Regions from separate parts of the Homo sapiens genome. Here regions 1, 3 and 4 are each linked to region 2. Evidence: promoter capture Hi-C in 16 types of primary human blood cells and fetal thymus (Javierre and others, 2016). All regions are on one chromosome and are shown on one strand. Each heading gives the region's core, a stretch centred on a gene start or on the middle of the fragment in contact. The rest is flanking DNA. Distances are from core to core; before and after follow the strand shown. Region 1 overlaps CNNM2 (cyclin and CBS domain divalent metal cation transport mediator 2). Region 2 holds the start of INA (internexin neuronal intermediate filament protein alpha). Region 3 overlaps CNNM2 (cyclin and CBS domain divalent metal cation transport mediator 2). Region 4 overlaps CNNM2 (cyclin and CBS domain divalent metal cation transport mediator 2).

Region 1 (4,603 bases), core at 2,002-4,501, 210 kb after region 2:
GGGGAGGGAGTGCGGTAGAGAAGCTATTGATAAGGGACCAGCATGATTCGAAGAAGCCATCAGGGAGACAGGAGTATAGGAACCAGAGGCCCATTGGGAGGGGCTGAGGAACAGGGACACCACGAGTGGGAGAAAGAAGGTCTGGAGAGAGGTCAGGGCTGGAGATGGGGACCTGAGACAGGAAAAGGACCGAAGCTCAGCCCGTGACTGAGAGCAGCAGGGAAAACTGAAACCATAACAGGACCATGGCAGAGCCTGAAAAGGGAGGCCCAGACCACGGCACCATGGCAGAAGAGCAGGGGTCAGGAGAATTCCAGGGGCAAGGACGGTCAGGGCCTCAAGGTGCTCAAGGCCGCCGGGAGCAATCACTGACCACAGGCCGCTGGGGGCTGCAGGAGGCTTTCCTACCCTACAGAGGAATCAGTGGGAGGACAGTGGCCCCGGCAGGAGAGGGACAGGCAGCAGGACATCCCCATCTGTGGGGCCATGGGAAGGCTGTTGAAAATTCAGGACTCTGGGTGCTGGGGAAGTCCCTGAAGTAGGGTCCCTTCAAAGAGGAGGGGAGGAACAAGGTTCAGAGATAGCAACACACACAGGAGTAGCCACGGTACATGTCTCCCCAATTCCGTGTCCATCTCTTCCTGAACTGACATGTATGTGCTGGCTGCAAATGTCTGCTTTGTAGTTTGTAACCTCAAGAGTGGCTGCGTGACCAGCTCTGAGCCTGACCCTCCATGCAGGAAATCAGGAGGAAGAGTCAAATGCAGTGGAGCCTCATGGTGACTTCCGTTCCTGGGTGTCTCCAGTTATCTGGAGCATTTGTTGTACAAGTTACAGGGCCTTTTGTGTTGTGTCCCTGCAGACAGATGCCAGGTCACTATTCTTTGGAGATAAAACTGTCAGGACTAGTAGGGCAGGCACAACCAAAACAAGACTGTAAAACAGAAAACTGTACATCTTTTTTTCTATTTAATCCATAGGTTCACACCATCTGTCTCTTGGAAGCGTGCGGTGGTTCCACTCTGAGGCCTGAAGCTCTGCCTTGCACACTCAAAGCAGAGATTCCCAGATTACCGACTCTGGCTCCGGCCCTCGGGCATTCTCATTTAACAATATAGGTGAATCTGGGCATCAGGATTTTATTTAAAAAGATTTCCGGGTGATTCTAGCAAGCCACAAACTTTGGGAATCATTGCTTTAAGGCTCTGTCTGTGAACAATGGCCCCAGCCCTGGAAACTGTGTGCCCTGGCCTCTCAAGGGACTCCCTCAAAGGCAGTGTAGCTGAGTCAACTGATTAAGCAAGGGCGGCTGCAAGACTCAAAACTCCAGACCACTGCCATTCCAGCTGATGCTTCCTCTGTCCTTCCAGACAGGATCCCAGGCAGGGGAGGATCTGCCATCTTCCCTCTGGACTCCATCTAGTTGAGATTCACTGCTGCGGGGTGGATATGCTAAGCTCAGTGATTCCTAGACATTTCCATCCTAACGGCCAGTAAGACGCACCTCTACAGAGACAGATACAGGGAAAGATACGGGGTTGCCAAATTTTTTTTTCATAAAGATGGTTTTAAAATTTATTTTTTCAGACAGGGTCTTACTCTGTCACCCAGGCTGGAGTGCAGTGGTGCAATCATGGCTCACCGCACCGGTGGTGAGAATCCTGCAGCCTTGAACTCCTGAGCTCAAGCAACACTTGTAACTCAGCCTCCTGAGTAGCTGGCACTACAGGTGTGCACCACCATGCCCAGCTAATTTTTCTATTTTTTTATAGAGACGGGGTCTCACTATGTTTCCCAGGCTGGTCTTGAACTCCTGGCTGATCCTCCCTCCTCAGTCTCCCAAAGTGTTGGGATTACAGGCATGAGCCACCGTGCCAGGGCAAAATAAAGGTATTTATTTTAAAAAACACAACTATTGCCAGGCACAGTAGCTCACACCTGTAATCCCAGTTACTGGGGAGGCTGAGGCAGGAGGATTGCTTGAGGTCAGGAGCTCAAGACTAGCCTGGGCGAAATAGTGAGGCACTGTCTCAAAACAAAACAAAACAAAAAAAACAGCTATCTACTGTTACCATCATTTCATAAAAGACCAGACATTTAACCCCTCAAATTTAGAAAATATGTCATTTCAGAGTAATAGGTCTTCAAACTGAATACACATAGCTTTATGAAAAGCTCATCGCAACTGTCTTTATTTTCTCATTCTGCCTCAAACTGGCAAAAACTTTGTTAAAATATCTCAGCACTTAGGAAGAGTTATCACATTAGAGTAATTTTACTTCATATAAAGTTGCAACAGATTAAAGGGTACCTGCAGTTCTTTCAGTTCTATAATAGCATTCTATGACTCTACAATTCCAAGAGTTGTCAAACCTGCCCACCCCACTACATCCCTCTCTATAGGATTTAAGCTTTTCTGGCAGGCAAGTTTTAAAAACATCCAGTAAACGTATCTTATTCATTTACGTGTTAGTGGTTCCAAAAAACATTCATTTTCAAATAACCTACCAGTATACAAAAATTAGGGCACAGGAGGAGATGGCTTACCTGGTTCGAGATTAATTAGGTGTCCTTTCAGATAACAACTTTTTCCATATAAGGAAGCTACATATTGATTTTACTTTTGAAACATCTGTAAGTTTACTCTAGTCGAGCATATCACCAAAAAAACCAGGACAGGACATGATGAATTCCAAGAATTCCCAGAGGGAAGTAGGGCTTCATGCTTATAAACTGACGAACTTGGAAGAAGGACTCACTGGACCAGCAAAGTTGGCTTCCTGAGTAAAGCATCTCTCACAGCATCCTGCCCTTCTTTGGACAAAGGTATCAGATAACCTCTTCTCAAAGTTTCTAAGTGTCCACAACCTACTCAACAGCCCGTGCCATGTCTGGCTTCAAAGTGGAATCCTAAACTTCCCTAGCCAGCGTGGGCACAACCACACTGGTGCAAACAGTGCCAACCCGGGATCAGTGCATGCGGCTCAAGGCGGGACTTCCCCATGCGCCACATGCTGAGCAGCCACCTGGTCTCCCGCTCACCTTCTTGTTTTTTAAATCGCCATCACAAAGTATTCAGGGGGGCCTGACTCCTGAAAGCAGGTGATGAGATGCCAGGGGCACAAAGACTGGGTTGTATTAACCGAGAGAGGAGTTGCAGCACCCAAAGATGCCCACTCAAAGCCTGGGGAGACCTGGTGCCCCGACACTCTCTAGCAATGCTTTCAATCTGGAGTCTGCAATGGAATGGCCAGACTCAGCAAGTTTGCTAAATTTACTTTTCTAAATATTGATGGTCAAAATTAATTTAGACACATTTTGGACCATCTGACTGACCATTTTCCAATCAAGTGCTACCACCAGATGTCAGTGCCAGCACCCGCCTTGGCCACTCTGGTGCCACGTGGTATTACTTGGAGCATCACAGCTAAGCCTTGCTACTGTCAACTGGGAGCTTGCTGGTAACGCAGCATCTCAGACTCCACCCCAGACCTACTGAAGCATTCGTTTCATACTGAAGGATCTGCCGTTCAACAAGACCCACAGGTGAATCCTCTGCACATTAAATTCTGAGAAGCACTGAGCTAATGAGTAGGGAACAGAGTGGGATTTAACAGGGAAGTAATTCAGTCACACCCAGTGGAGGCCAAATAATAGCACGACACACTGTAGAAACATTCAAAGTAGCTCAAATTTGGCAAAGGGCTGGAGGGTGCAGACATCTTGGACACACAAAGGCCCAGGTGTGCTGAATGCAAGGGAGCTCGCAGGGCAGCAGCCCTCCACAGCCCTGGGATGGGGCCCTTCCAGGTCAGCCAAATATCATCTACACATTGAGAATTTATTCATTTGATAGTTTGTTTTGGTTTATAGTTATATATAAGAGTTCTAAGCAAAGGAATCTTATACCTAGTCAATTTTATACTGACATATACTTAAGTAGTATAATTTTAAAAGTTTCAATGCTGGGTGTCCAAGTAAAATGGGTGTGTTATCTGTGCTTGACTCAAGATTAAGGATCCGTTACTGCACTAGGGTACACAGACCGTGCAACTTAAAAACCCATGAGGAGGTTGCTATTAAAAGCTTAAATTCTCCTTCCTATCAGGTGAAGGGTGAAGGCATACTAAGTATTTCAAGGGCTGTATAAATTTTAAGATGCCACCTGCCATACTCCACAAGACGACCCCCGTTTATAGGGAAAAGTCCCTTTTGAATCCATGTCAGATGCTCTAAAAAAGAGTGTGGATGGGCCGGGCACATGCTTTCCACTTCTTCCATTACTACATAGTGATCCCTCATATTATCATCTCACTTTGATTAGCTAGACGTGAACTGTTTCTACTACTTTATAGTTAATAGATTTGCTATAAATATATTTGCATAGATAGCTTTGTAAAACAATGATTTAGATGGGAGGCTACCAGTTTAGGATATGATTTATTGTACTTTTTCTTTTTTGTCTACCATTCAGTTAAAAATTTGAGGGGATGGGGCATCTGTTTCCTAAAATCAGTAATAGATGCTTAACTTTGTCAACTGTCTGACATCTACTGATATAAATATCATTTTTTTTTACTACTTTCCCAATTAATGTGACATA
Region 2 (4,583 bases), core at 1,143-3,642:
ACCACACTATTCCAATTCTTTTCTACACCTTCCATTTACCCTGTCCCCTGCCTCTGTGCCATTTGCGGTCATAATCCCAGAATTTCTTATATAGTAAAACTGAAGACACAGTGGCCTTTGTTGGGAAGAAATAGCCAATCAATACCATCACAGGAGCTTAGAGGACAGGGAAATATGGAAAAAATACATACACTAGAACAAAGAAAAACCATCTCTGTGACTTATCACATGCACTTACAATGAAAAAAATACTAACAAAACAGGAATTTTCAAGTGGGACCTCACAGCTGCTGAGCAAATTAAGTGTTTTTTGTTTAGTGCTAAGCCATCCATGAAAGCCAAAACTGATGTTGTCTATGAGGTGACCTTTGATTGCAGGTAGCCAAGACTGATGTGTTGGTGTTGCAGGAAAAAAAAAATCAAAGCAGTTAATTGCCTAGAGATTCATAACTGGGACACGAGACAGGAGAGACATAATTTCTGAGATGGGAAGAACTCGAGATCAGCACCGTGGACAGCGCCCCGACCTTTCACGTTTTGCCAACCGGCGAACGCTTTCTTAAGGAGGAAATGTCAGCTGGTGGACAAGGGAATCGTGTGTGTGTGTGTGTGTGTGTGTGTGTGTGCTGGTGGACAAGGGAATCGTGTGTGTGTGTGTGTTGGGGAGGTGGGTAGAGCAGGGTGGTTACTACTAGCTCAAGCATCGCTCAGCTTGTTGGCTCCCAATCTCTACTTTTTGGAGCGCGAAAGTCAAGAAAATGGGATAGGACTCTTCCCAGTTCAGGATCGCATTCTTCCTTCAGCCCTGAAGCAGACCATACTCCATAAATAACTTCTAGGGCGCACAGAAAGCTTTTCAAAGTCAACCAAACAAGCCAGATAGCCGAGACAGCACCGCCCACGTAACCTGCCCCGTTGGGCTCAGTCTTACTTTGGGTGGGGCACTGTTCTCCGGGTCGCCGGTGTGTGTAGGCCCGCTTGCTGACAGACAGGCAGAGTTGGGTTTTCGAACCTCAAATAAATTTAAGGGCTTCTTTGTTTGAAGGGCTGGGGCAGGGACATAAATGAGGGGCGTTCCCTAAAATTAACATTAAAGACTCCAGGGTTTTTTGTTAACCAGCGCCTCCAGCCGCGGCTCTTCTCTCCTCTCTTTTGCCCTCCCCTTAAGTCCTGGGGCCCAGTTTTACCAGAGGAAGAGGGTACGCGCGGAAGAGGGCAGGGCACCCCTCCCCACGCCCAGCCCCGGCCCTTACCTGGTAGCCAGCTACCTCGGCACTGTGCCGCTCCTCCAGCTCCAGGATCTGCCTCTCCAAGGACTCGTTGGCCCCGCGCAGGCCCTCGATCTCGATGGTGCGCGCCTGCAGCTGGCGCCGATACTCGTGGATCTCCTCGCGGCTGGCCCGGATGGCCTCGGTGCTGCGCGCCGCCTGCTCGTTCAGGTTGGCAAACTTGGACTTGTACCATTCTTCCGCGGACTGCAGGTTCTTAGCGGCCAGGGACTCATACTGGGCGCGGATCTCCCTCAGAGCCGAGGTCAGGTCTGGTTTAGCCACAGTCACGTCCACCTCGGCCGCGGCCTGCGACGACGCCTGCAGCGTGGCCAGCAGCTCGGCTACCTCCTCGTCGTGCACCTGGCGTACGAAGGCCAGCTCGTCCAGCAGCGACTCCACCTTCTTCTCCAGGTCCAGGCGGGCCAGCGTGGCGCCGTCCACGTCGCGCTGCTGCGCCTTCAGGGCGCGCTCGGCGCCTTCGCGTCCGCGGCTCTCCTCCTCGCAGCGCGCCCGCAGCCGCTGCACCTCCTCCGCCAGCCCGTCGCGCTCCAGCAGGGCCTGCGAGCGAGCCGAGCTGGCCTCCTCCAGCTGCGCGCGCAGGTCGCGCAGCTCGCGCTGGAAGAGCTCGCCGACGCGCGACGGCTCAGCGTGGCGCTGTCGCAGCGCGGCCAGCTCGGCCTCCAACGCGCGGTTCTGCGTCTCCAGCTGATGCACCTTCTCGATGAACACGGCGAAGCGGTCGTTGAGGCCCTGCAGCTGCTCCTTCTCGTTGGTGCGGATGATCTTGTACTCGTTGGTGCGCGCCGCCGCCTGGCTCAGGTCCAGCCCGTCGGACGCCGGCGGCCGGCGATAGGCCAGGCCGAGGCCGAGCGACGAGGCCGAGGAGCAGGCGGCCGAGGAGGCCACATTGCTGCGGGACAGCGACTGCGAGCGGAAGCCGCCCGCGCCGCCGGCCCCAGAGAGGCGGGCGGACAGGCGAGAGCCATCCCCGAACACCTTGCGGTAGGAGGAGGAGGAGCACAGGTAGTGCTCCGAGCCGAAGCTCATGGTGCCGGGATCGGGGCCGGACGTGCGGCTTCAACGCGAGCTACAGAAGAAAGGAGAGGTGCGGCAGGCAGGGCGCGGCGGGGCGGTGCGCCCGGCTTTTAAGGCGCCGGGGCTGGGGCGGCGCGCTGGGGGCGGAGCTCCTGCTCAGAGTCTGGCCGGGAGAGGGAAGGGGGGCATCCAGGAGTGGGGGCGGGGAGGCGCAGTGACTACCGCAGCTGCGCGCGCGACGACCTGGGGCGCCGGGACAGGGCCATCTGCATCGGAGTCGCCCCTTTCCGCAGCGCTTCTCCCCAAGAATCGACTGCTTCGGAAGTGACTCGAGCGGAGGGGTGCCTAAACGACTGAGGTTTCCCATCCGGAAACCACACAGCTCTGTCGCATCCCTTGACCCTATCCCCTCTTCTTTAACCGACTGGGAGGTTAGGGGTTTCTGGGAGGTGTCCCCTACACCCACCCTCATCCTGAGGTGAGGCGCACAGAAAGCCTTCCCGAGGGCGAGGTCGTGTTTTTCCAGTTACAGTGAGGACCTGCAGAGCGAGCCCTTGTCCCCTTCCTCAGGGTCCCCAAGGAGAAAGGTGGGAGATGCTACGTCAGAAAGCATCTCTCCAGCTGCCCCTCTGCAGCTCCTGGGGAGGCTCCGGGCGGAAAGATGTTCAGCAAGTGCCTCTCCCAGAAGAGAGGGGAGATCAGTAAAGAAAGTGACCCCGAGCTGCGGAGAGTGGGGAGAAGCGGCGGTACAGAGGGGAAAAGAGGCCAGACTTGGAGAAGCAGGAGGCGCTGGGAATTGCTGGGGCTCATCGTTAGGGCACTAAAGCATGGCACAGGCCAGGACCACAAGCTGCTGGAAAGGGGGCTGCAGACTTTTGTGTTTAGAGCATTATATTTTAAAATATTTCGAAAGGAGCATTTTTAAACCAGGAGATTTCACCTGTAAAGAAATTGGATTTCTGGCTTCTTCTGAAAATGGGAAGAGCTGGGATGCCCACAGTGGCAGAGGTGAGTTGCCCTTGCCATTTGTATAAGAAGTGTGCTCTCCTGTTCACTACAGTCCCTGCCATTCTCCACTGAATTACGCCCCCCTTCTTAATTCATTTACTTTACCTCTCTGACCCTGTGGGCATTTGAGATTTCAGTTTGTGTAAATCCAGCAGGGCAGGTTCTCAACTGGCTTCAGAGAGCCACTCCCTGTGCAGATCTCTTTTTGGAGAAAAGAGATCCCTGCAAAAAGATTAAACTCCAGGAGTGGGGGAGAGTGCTGGTGACTGAGCCGGCCTCTTCTGCCACATGGTAGGGTTGGTGGGGCAGGGGGTGAGAATCAAAGAATGGAATCTGAAAAGATGAAGGCTGGGAGGGGTCAGTGTGGCGTCTGTAATATGTACCCACTTGCAAGCTTCTAATATCATTCAGGATGTGGATATGGCTTTGGAGAGGGAGTAGGAAGACCTTTTTAGTTATATCCCAGAATTCCAGACTGAGGGCCTTTTATTGATATTGGAATCTTCAAGGACGTAGTTCTAGGATAAGTTTTACTTCATGGGGAAAGGGGAATATGCTTGGGACAGGCCACTAAAGGAAGGGTGAAAAGGGATCTTATGGGACTTTGGAGCATATCTCTTGGCTTTGTGCTTGATGTCATGGAAGATGGTCAGGCCCTGCCACAGCCTGCCCCTCTGGTTCCTCATCACAGACCAAAGCCTTGAGTTGGAGGGACTCAATTCTGAGGTCTTTGGGCTTAGAAAGACCTGGTAAGGTGAACAATAAAAGATTGCTAACACTGCTGAGTAATGATTGTCTGCCAGTACTTGTGCTGGCACTTTTGCATAGGTTTACCTCTGAACCATGCTTCAAGGTGGCCCTCACCTCCATCTTATAGATAAGGCACCGAGGTGCGGGTGCAGCACAAGGTCACCAGCAAGCAAAGACAAGCATACATTCTCTCTTCACTACATAATTCTGCTTAGTGCAGTGAGACTCTTTTTTTTTTTTTTTTTTTTCTGAGACGGAGTTGGCCGGGTGCAGTGGCTCACACCTGTAATCCCAGCACTTTGGGAGGCCGAGATGGGCGGATCACTTGAGGTGAGGAGTTTGAGACCAGCCTGACCAACATGGTGAAACCCTGTCTCTATTAAAAATATAAAAATGAGCCGGGTGTGGTGGCACGGGCCTGTAATCCCAGCTCCTCAGGAGGCTGAGGCAGGAGAATTGCTTGAACTCGGGAGGTGGAGGTTTTAGTGAGCCGAAATCATGCGACTGCACTCCAGCCTG
Region 3 (5,034 bases), core at 1,106-3,605, 250 kb after region 2:
ATGGTATTATCTCTGCAAGATCTTGTCATAAGAGGAGATTGTCTTTTTTTTCCTGGGACACAATGAAGTAAACAAGGCCAATCAGTGACTGCCAGTTGATTATAATTTTAGCAACCATTTCCCAGAGGAATGACCAACTGTTGTTACCTAATCTAAGGCCTTGTACATAAAAGACACTCATTTCCTATTTAATTGTACTGATTTTATTATTTTAACTCTTATTGGCACCAAATTCTAGAAAGGTTACAATAGAGTTTGTTCTCAGATGAAGCCCACTTGAAAAACAAGTAGAAATCAAACCCTGTGCTCCTTCCTCTGTTGTGCTTGAGAATGTCTTCAAGAATTTTCATTATCTTCTTATAAACACAAAACATGAATTCAACCTGAAAACCGAGACTCTGATACTCAAATACAATGAGTTGTCAAGTAAAAAAAGATAAGTGTTTACTGAATGACTAGATGAATAAATGAGCGAATGAATGGCCAAAAGAACTCAACATTCATTTGCTTCCGTAAAGAACCTTAGAAACAGACCATCCTTTTGAGGGACCTGGTCCTTGGTAAAAATGACAAACTGTCTTAAGCTTTCTGTGAGTACGCACTACAAATGCCTTATGGAACATCACCTCAGTTCCTGATACAATGTTCAGCAGATCTAGGCTGCTCTCGGTCACTGACCCCTCATCAAAAAAGGCACAGATTTTAAGAGCTCAAATATGTGACAGGACCCTAGGCATACTATCAGTGATTAAGAACTTTAAAATTAGACAAGTATGGGTGTAGATGCTTTGACTCTGTTACATACTACCTGTGTGACTGAGAGCAAGTCATTTACCTTCTCATGGCCTCCCACTTTGACCGTCTGTAAATGGAGATATACCCTATGTTTACTATAAAAATTGAAAAATCAAATGAAAAAACAATTTAAATAGTGCCTGGCACATAGTAAGTGCTCAATAAATGATAATGATTATATTACTGATGAACTTTCTCATGGGTTAGGAAGCTAAAAATCATCTCAAATGTACATGCATAATACCTTTTAATATCTATAGAAACAGGATCTTGGGATTATTGGAATTATACAGCTATAAGTAGCTTCTTTCAAAATATAGATTGTAGGCTTCTATCAAAGACCATCATTTGTATCACCTGAGCATTCAATCCTATGTAGGCTTATTTTGCTTTAAAGTTCAATATAGCAACTCTACAAATTGTTTGCTCAGTTTCTCAATACCAAAATTTTGCAGCTGGGTGCATCGAATGGGTTATGGAGATTGTCCTCCCTCCCCTCTCACCTCTAGAAGTAGTTGCTCCCGCTTACTGGATGAGGCAGTGGGGAGGGCGGCCCATGAAGGAAGCTTGTACAGCCACTGCCTTTGTCATATTTCCTCTGTGAAGAAACAGAAGACTTCAGTTCCTGGGATTGGTTAAGCTCTAGAATAGAGAACTAAGGAACTACTTTGTATTTTCCTAAGAATCTCATCTCTCTTTGGGCAGAGCGCCATTGCAGCCAAACTGCTACACATTCTTTTTGCATCTTTGTCAGGAAACTGGAATGATAATAAACACAGGTAGCTTGTAATACACAATAAATTGAAGGAAGTTGGCACAGAGCAGAGAAAGACTCAAAGACTGAGGGAATGAGAAGGGGAAAAGCCAATGAAATAATAAATTATGTGCAATGGCCATACCAACCTTGACATTTTTAAAGATATTGCAAAGGTTTCCATGTTTATGATTAGAATTCACTTGAGGTCAATATGGCCAGTCATGAATTCATTCAACAAGTATTTTTCTTGAGCACTCACTATATGCTAAGCACTGTACCATGCACCAGCGATTAAACTCAAACACATACAAGACTGATTTCCTTACTGTCAAGGAACTGGAAGTCGACCAAGGAAGACAGGCAAGGAAAATTACAACATGTTAGACTCTTCTCTTAACTGACCTCCATGTAACAATGTGCTAATGAACACACTCCATTCTCCCTGTAGAACACACTGACTGAGGCCCACAGCACACTGAATGCTTTTGTCTAATAGACTGCTATCTAGTACTCTGCATTCTAAACTCCCCTGGATTAAGTAGAAATTTTACTAAGAATTGGTTATTTCTGTTTCCAAACCTTTTTTTTTTTTTTTTTTTTTTTTGAAGACAAGGTCTCACTCTGTCCCTAAGGCTAGAGTGCAGTGGCACGATCACAGCTCACTGCAACCTTGACCTCCTGGGCTCCAGCAATTCTCTCACCTCAGCCTCTTGAGTAGCTGAGACTACAGGTATGTGCAACCATGCCCAGCTAAATTTTTGTATTTTTTGTAGAGACACAGTTTTGCCGTGTTTCCCAGACTGGTCTCAAACTCCTGAGCTCAAGCGATCCACCCGCCTTGGCCTCCCAAAGTGCTGGGATTACAGGCATGAGCCACTACTCCCAGCCTCCAAAAATATTTATGACATTTGTACTTGATGCTGCAATTATGTAATTTAAGTATTATAAAAACTTAAGAGAATAGAAAAGTTGTTTCTACGGACACTGTCTCAGTCCATTTTGTGCTGCTACATCACAATACCCAAGACAGGTTAATTTATGAAGAACAGATTTCTTACAGTTTGGAGGCTGGGAAGTGCAAGATTGAGGGGCCCACATCTGGCAAGGGCCTTCATGCTGTGTCATCCCATGGCAGAAGGGCAAGAGAGCAAGAGGGGACTGAACTTGCTCCTATAACAAGCCCATTCTCACAGTAACTAACCTAACTACATAATGACACCAATCCATTCACGAGGAACCTGATGACCCAATCACCTCTTATTAGACCCCCATCTCCCAGTGTTTGCATTGGAGATTAAGTTTCGCCACATGAACTTTGTGAGACACATTCAACCCACAGCAAATATGATGAATCTTTCAGAAAGAATCAGTAAAAGCAGGCTGTTAAACAAAAAAATCCCTGCTGTTGAATTAGGAGGGGGTAAGAGAAAACAGATCTAGGAAGATTCTGCACTTGTATTGCTTTGAAAATGCTTTGCATTGCTTGTTCCACTTGAAGTGAAAACTCAGATTTAGAGAAGATTTGGATAACTTAGAGAAGATATACTACGGATGTGATTCATGCACTATTGTATGAAACACGAATCAGTAAGCCCAACTCAAAGAAAATGCCTGGGTCCTACTTCAGAAGAATGGCAACACCATCTTCCAATGCCTGTTGAAATGTATTGATTCAGGCAAAGAACATTAACAGATGCTAAAACTATTAGGGGGAGAGGTTGATGGAGAAAATAATATTTGTGTGGTGCTGAAGTATCACTCCACAGATCATTGCTAATCCCAAAGAAGAAAGCTTATCTCTAGAATGGAGCCAACTTGGCTGGGCGTGGTGGCTCACGCCTGTAATCCCAGCAATTTGGGAGGCCGAGGTGGGTGGATCACAAGGTCAGGAGATCAAGACCATCCTGGCCAACACGGTGAAACCCCACCTCTACTAAAATACAAAAATTAGCCGGGCATGGTGGCACATGCCTGTAATCCCAGCTACTTGGGAGGCTGAGGCAGGAGAATCGCTTGAACCAGGGAGTTGGAGGTTGCCGCGAGCGGAGATCACGCCACTGCACTCCAGCCTGGGTGACAGGGCGAGACGCTGTCTCAAAAATAAAAATAAAAAATAAATAAAATAGAACGGAGCCAACTGCAGTCACTACCTTAATCAAGTGATCAAATTTAAAATCATTAGTAGTGGATAACCAGACCATATGTACCACCTAAAGTATTGCACACCAAAATATATTTCATCCTTTATAAAGTATTACTGATGAAGGTGTTTAATGTAGTCAGGAATTTGGATCTAGCTTCCAGTGTACAGGAAATACATGGGATAGATAAATGAGTTAAATGATACAATGACAAAACAATCATACAAGCCCCAAATGTAGGGCACTCTACAAAACAACTAGCTTGGTTTCTTTAAAAAGCCAATATCGGCCGGGTGCGGTGGCTCACGCCTGTAATCCCAGCAATTTGGGAGGCTGAAGTGGGTCGATCACGAGGTCAGGAGATCAAGATCATCCTGACTAACACGGTGAAACCCCATCTCTACTAAAAATACAAAAAACTAGCCAGGCATGGTGGCACGCACCTGCAGTCCCAGCTGCTCGGGAGGCTGAGGCAGGAGAATCGCTTGAACCCGGGAGGCGGAGATTGCAGTGAGCCGAGATCACGCCACCGCATTCCAGCCTGGGTGACAGAGCAAGACTCCATCTCAAAAAAAATAAAAATAAAAATAAAAATAAATTTTGCTTGGTATTATCACAGTACTGTATTTGGTTACATCACAAAATGACTTTATTGCTTAGACTTATGAGGCATGAAATGGTATGTCTTGAATCTGTTTTGAAATATTTTTGCAAAGAAAAAAGATAAATGAAACCAATATAACAAAGCCATGATAGTTATTGAATTGGTAATGGGTATATTGTGGTTTATTGTCTATTTTCTCTACTTTTATATATACTTTAAACTTATTAAAAAGTCAGTATCATGAAAAAATACTCAATGTCATGAAAAAATGAGAGGAATTATTCTAGCTTAAAGACACCAAAAAAAGCATAATATCACAATGCAATGCAAAAATCTTGATTGCATCCTTGTTAGAAGAAAACCAACTACAAATGACATTTGTGGAACAATTGGGAAAATGTGAATATGGAGAGAGTAGTCAATGATTTTAGGGTACCCTAATTTTCTTAAGAGTGATGATGGAATTAGGTTATGTGGAAGAAGTATGCAAAAACAGTTTAGGATAAAGTATGATATCTGTAACTTTCTTTGAAATGGTTCAAAAAATTAAAAATTATCACATCTAAAAAATATATGTATATTCATTATACTAGTCTCAATTTTTACATTTTTGCACATTTTTATAATCAAAACAAGTTTGTCAAATGATTGCAAATTTGTTTTATTTCAAAATAATATTTAGGGTATATATAATTTTTAATGATTCCATCCTTTTGCTGACTTTGTTGTTTAATGGA
Region 4 (5,091 bases), core at 539-3,038, 190 kb after region 2:
CAAGTTCTTGAGATACTTGGAAAGAAGATTTGCCAAGCAAACCTTCCCCACACTGAAAAATGTTTACTCAGTGTCCAGTCTTTGAGAGAGTGTTCTCACCAGAGTTATCTTTGACTTGAGTGTGTGGGTATCTTTAAACAAGTCACTTTTTGGACCCACTGACCTCAAGTCAATGACTTAGTAGAACTGCAGTAGGAAAACTGGCCCCATCTAAAATTTCCTATCATGTGTTGGCCTCCTGTTTGAACACTGCACAGTCACTAATACCCTGACAGGAAAAGCACTTCAGAAGTCGGGCAACTAATTCTCCCTTAGAAACGTGCATCCTCAGTCCTCAGTAATCCACTAGGGGAGATGGCATGCCAGCAGAAAGTCAGAGAAAAGGGCCCTAGAACCATCCCTTTGTCCTGGGACTGCTTGAAAATAAGAGCACAGATATGAGGCCCTTGGAGGGAAAATGACAAAACCACCATACAAAGAAAGCAAAAGAGTTTATTATCCACCTAATAGAATTCAACTTTTTGGCTTTAATAAAGAATCATCTCTTTTAAATTACCTTCAAAAAGTATAAAATAAGTTTCCAGAAATCAACTCCAGGCTATAAAAAGGTCAGTTTTTAACCACTTTCTCTACAAGACCCTCTGATCAATATTTGTTTCCTCAGAAGTGCCGAGTTGAAAAACGGCTCTAGGGAGCACAATTTTTGTGAAATAGAAACCCCGGGTGCATCACGATAAAGCTTAGAAATGAGCGGATGTGTGCGCACTCTGAGGATGCAGGGGGGAGTTTTAGGCAAATCTCATCTTGACAGCAGGAAAAATTGCCTCCATTTTCCTTGGAGCATTTCCTGATTTGAGCTAAGGGCTCATCTAGACCAAGTGAGTAAAACAGGAAAAACAAACCAAGGCAGGAGGCTGGGAGTGAATGTGCTACCATGATTTCTTTCCCTAGCTCTGCTGCCACTTTCTGCCCTGCTTCTAATGAAAGCAAGCAGGGTTCGAAGACAGCATTTCACTGGGCTAAGATACACCTCATTCTACTTTCAGGTAGTTGGGCGATACCTGGGGAGATGGGAGCGGTAGTTAGGTCAGGCAGTGTCTGAAAGCCAATTCTGTCAGCAGTTCTTCCCTGAAATGTCTCCATCCACAGAACAAGTGTAAGTAAAAGACTGCAAATGCCACGGTTAAATAAATTCAGTGGAGACTATAAATGGACCAGTCAAGAGGCTAAATTTTCAGAGCACGATCCTCTTTGGAATGTAAAATAGAGACTAAAAGTGGAGAGAAAAGGGATTCCAAAAAGATGTGGTTTAGGAATGGATCACAGAGGGTCCCTGAAGCTCCACCGTAAGTTCTTCAGGGACTGGTCTCATGTGAGTGATGAGGGTAAGAAGGAACAGAAGACAAAGTAGTGATGGAAAAGAACGTGTATCATACACACCGATTACTGGGGAATGCAGGATATCCACTGAATCCTGAAGACCCACCTGCACACGCCTCGCCACACTCAGGCCGGATGTTTTCCACTTGAAAGTGACTATCCATGCCTGCTCCGACCTTCCTCCCAGGCTTAGCATAGCAGAGGAGGACCTATAAAGCCATCCTTGTTTTCAAGAGCCAATTGAGAGGCCTGAATGAGACCTTTGGTCTTACCTAGGAAATGCCGGCTTAGCCCAGCGGCACTGTGTGTTGTTATTAGTGACTGAGCAGCCAATGTCTGGGGCAATTTGACTGGATACTCCGAATGTTCTTATGTAGAGAGTAACTGATGGAGAACAGATTATAATCCTTGCAAAGAAGGACACCTTCCCCCTAGGATTGGCTGTACCAGGCTGTGACTTGGAGGCACAGAACTAGTACCCACTTCTCTTAAGACTTTACACTGTCCAAAGAAGATGCTCTTCTATGTTGTCATGCTGAGATCCAGTCCCAGCTTTCCCACCAGCAAAGCCAGGCAAGTGGGTAGGGCAGTTGGTTCAGCCAAGCTGAATACAATGGCATGGTTGGTGTTGCACAGATGAAAGGGAAGAGGGAACACACATCTGCTAGCAGGGTGAACAGAACATCATTTATCTAAATAGAATAGAAATAAACAAAAACCTTGTAAAACAATCACAAAATTTACAAATAAATTGGTACAAAATAAATAGGAGAGACTGTACATCTACATCATTTGAATTATAAAATGCATTCATTAAGACAATCAGCTCAATCCTATACATGTCATTTGTGCTTATTTAGGTTTATGTACACAGCTCTGAATACTGTGTTCAGAAAACTTCACTGCTCAAATGCATGACCTGTACACTATGATACAGTGAATAAAGGCTGAGGAGGATCAAAGTCAGACACAAAGCAGGGTCTTACTTGAGGGCCAAGGCAATGTTGGCACTGGGCCTCAAAACCAAGAAAAGGCATATTAAGAGCCCAGATAGGCAGGCAGCTTCCATTATCCAGAAAGATGGATTATGCAATCTAAGGTAAGTGGAAGAAACCATTATCACTGTGGGGCCAGGCAAGTGACCTGCCTTGGGAGGAGGGAGGCCGTGGACTCACAGCTGTACTGTACCCTACATAGGGGAAGAGAGCCTGTCACCAAGAAACCACCTTGGAAATATTTCATGGAGGTACTTGAGAGGCCCTGCCCACAAGGTAGGAGACCTGCCTCCATCCTCATCCAAAACACTGGTCATAAGGAATACAGGTGGGCCCAACTAAAGGGGCTGGGGATGCTAGGGCCAACATAAAAGCAGCAACCTGTTTATAAAAAACAACACTACCCTCTCACCCGCCTTAAAGGACAGCAGAACCCTAGGATCCATGGATGAGGAAGCTTCAAGACAGACCTTGTCCTAGTCACAGACGAAGTACTAACAGGCATATGTACATAATAAATAATATAAAATAAAGCATATACATTTGTGGGTTTAAAGGACTCAAACAAGAAAAAATTGATAACTTCACCTTCACAGTAGATTCAGACTTGGGGAGTAATGATCAGAAGCGAGGCTGGGGCTCTCTGGGGAATGAGAATCCTAAGACCTCATTCTTCCCAACTTTGCTCTGCTCTAGAAGTCTGAGCCTCCAACAAAAAAGGCAGGCACCCAAGCCCCACCAGGCCCATTGGATAGTTCTCTTCAGGGTGAATCTGCAGCCAAATCTGGCCCCCAAAGAACTGCATCCTAAAAGTGAATCCATGTGGATCAGATGCCGGAAGGCGTCCTTCCAAGCGAGGCAAGACAATGCTCCCATTCTTCTCATTTGTTCACGGTCCCAATGGGCATTAAAACCTGAAAACCTTGTGTACTCAAGTCTTTCTTACAGTATGTGTTGGATCTGTGTACATATAAACCTTGGCATACAAACACCTAGAACTTTACTCTCTTGCAGCTAGAACCTTTGTTTCCATGATGCTTGAAGTTCAACCTGGTATTTCCCATCAAAAGATATTTAAAACAATTCTAGTAGAGATGATGTCAGTAGCTCTAGCATACAGAGAGAACGTGCTTACTTGAGCTGAGCCAACCACAGTGGTGTGAGAAGCAAAGAAGGTCCCCAGCCTAGGATGGTGGGAGGAAAGCTGCTCCCTACTCTATGCAGTTGCTGTGAACTGCCATCTCTTCTTCGCATCCGTAGGGTTGACCAGGGACTCTAGAATATGAATCTCCAGATAGGAAAGAAGGTAGCAAAAGGGAAATGGGCAAGTAAACCGTGATCGCAGACAGAAAGCTTGCAAGTGCTAGAGGAGGAAGGCCTACTTGTCACAGCCTTGCTAAGTAACAGCAGCAAGCTATTGGTGCACCACTCACCCCTCAAACGGAGGCAAATGAACCTCAACTTAGAAGTCTCTGAACGTCTCTCTCCTATTAACCAACTTGAACACCTAAGAAATAGGAAAAGATAAAGATTTGCAAATGACCCTGAGGTATAAAAATCCACTGAGAAGTTGCTCATTGATACATCAGAAAAATTTCTGAATCCCCAGATCACTTTCCTATTCAAACCCCTATATCCCTACTAAATTCTGGGTTAACCTACAACTCACCCAGATACCCTTGATGGACAGAAGCACCACTAGCCTAGAGCCCAGAATGGAACTACATGGCCCAGGACAAGAGCCAGTTTCCTCAGTAAGGAAGTAAGCAATGGCACCTCAGAGGCCTTCTGGACCCTAACCTACCAGCTCAGTCTTGTATTTCTCCTCAACCCTTTGCAAAGAAAAGCCCATATCTGGGCTCAAAAGCAGAGGGGAGTTTTTCCCATGCCACCAGGGAGCTTGGGTCATGCTACATAGCGTGCAAAGCCAGCCCTCCCTGGCCTGCTCTTGCTTGGAGCCCCAGAGAACAAGGTGAGCACCTTCCTGTGCCAGCCCGGGTGAGTCATCTGCCTAGGATCACCCCTGGGGAACCACAGGGGCAACTCTGGTTGCCCAGGAGACCTCACCTTCCTGGGCCTAGGCAAGGCGAGGATGGCTACAGATCCCCGGCTGGCCTTCAGATGACAGAGGTGGTTGTGTGTTTTTACTAGGCAGGACACAGACTTGATCAGCCAGGGCCTATACAGGTCTGCTCCTCAACCCAAAGAGAGAATTTGAGGGCAGAAGTTCATGGTACCTGCTTAGCTCAAATTCCTATTGCTCTATTTCCTAGGGAAAATGTATTTCTATTTGTATCTACCATTATTTTCCTAGGCTTGGAAAAGCTGGTCCTTTAGTGTACAGTGCTGACGACAGCACAGGTAAATATACTCACAGTTACTGTTCCGTATTAGTGTGAAGCTCTGCATTCAACATTTGCACTGTTCCTTGAAGTCACATTAGAAGATGGTAAGATGCCCCACTCCCTCCCACTTGGGGATGCCAACCACTTCAACATGGCATTGAACTCCCTGCAGGGAGTGAGGTGAGGAGGGAGGAAAGAACAGAGTTCAATGTAACCTTTCAAGTTCAAATTATGTAAGAATCAAGATTTAAGCCAGTTGATTAGCACCCCGATATCTGTGTAAGTCTTAAGATTTTGTTTTCCTAAGAGTTTAAATGTATGATTTTGAATTTGCCTGACGCATATGGGACAAGCAGTGAAGGGACGGAACC

Evidence for each region. Contacts are between HindIII fragments. The CHiCAGO score rates a contact against its expected background, and 5 or more counts as called.
Region 1: a fragment that was not itself captured here is called in contact with the fragment with the promoter of INA in region 2 in 1 of 17 cell types (endothelial precursors); the score reaches 6.3 in endothelial precursors.
Region 3: a contact is called between a fragment that was not itself captured here and the fragment with the promoter of INA in region 2, in 1 of 17 cell types (endothelial precursors). The highest score is 5.4, in endothelial precursors.
Region 4: a fragment that was not itself captured here is called in contact with the fragment with the promoter of INA in region 2 in 2 of 17 cell types (erythroblasts and endothelial precursors); the score reaches 6.6 in erythroblasts.

What each region holds. Positions count from the first base shown.
Region 1 is chr10:103,061,841-103,066,443 of GRCh38, reverse strand. The region is part of intron 4 of CNNM2 (cyclin and CBS domain divalent metal cation transport mediator 2); the gene reads right to left. Among named protein-coding and RNA genes, the nearest start is that of NT5C2, 130 kb to the left of the region's middle. The HindIII fragment of the contact is 1,675 bases long and covers 2,414-4,088 here.
Region 2 is chr10:103,274,947-103,279,529 of GRCh38, reverse strand. It overlaps INA (internexin neuronal intermediate filament protein alpha), which reads right to left and starts at 2,392. Exons shown (of 3, transcript NM_032727.4): 1 at 1,254-2,392. The coding sequence starts at 2,318. RefSeq lists an enhancer at 1,373-1,977. The HindIII fragment of the contact is 2,856 bases long and covers 855-3,710 here.
Region 3 is chr10:103,023,724-103,028,757 of GRCh38, reverse strand. The region is part of intron 1 of CNNM2 (cyclin and CBS domain divalent metal cation transport mediator 2); the gene reads right to left. Among named protein-coding and RNA genes, the nearest start is that of CNNM2, 110 kb to the right of the region's middle. The HindIII fragment of the contact is 1,983 bases long and covers 1,364-3,346 here.
Region 4 is chr10:103,080,348-103,085,438 of GRCh38, reverse strand. CNNM2 (cyclin and CBS domain divalent metal cation transport mediator 2) reads right to left here. Exons shown (of 8, transcript NM_017649.5): 8 at 1-5,091. Among named protein-coding and RNA genes, the nearest start is that of NT5C2, 110 kb to the left of the region's middle. RefSeq lists an enhancer at 1,473-1,767. The HindIII fragment of the contact is 2,093 bases long and covers 742-2,834 here.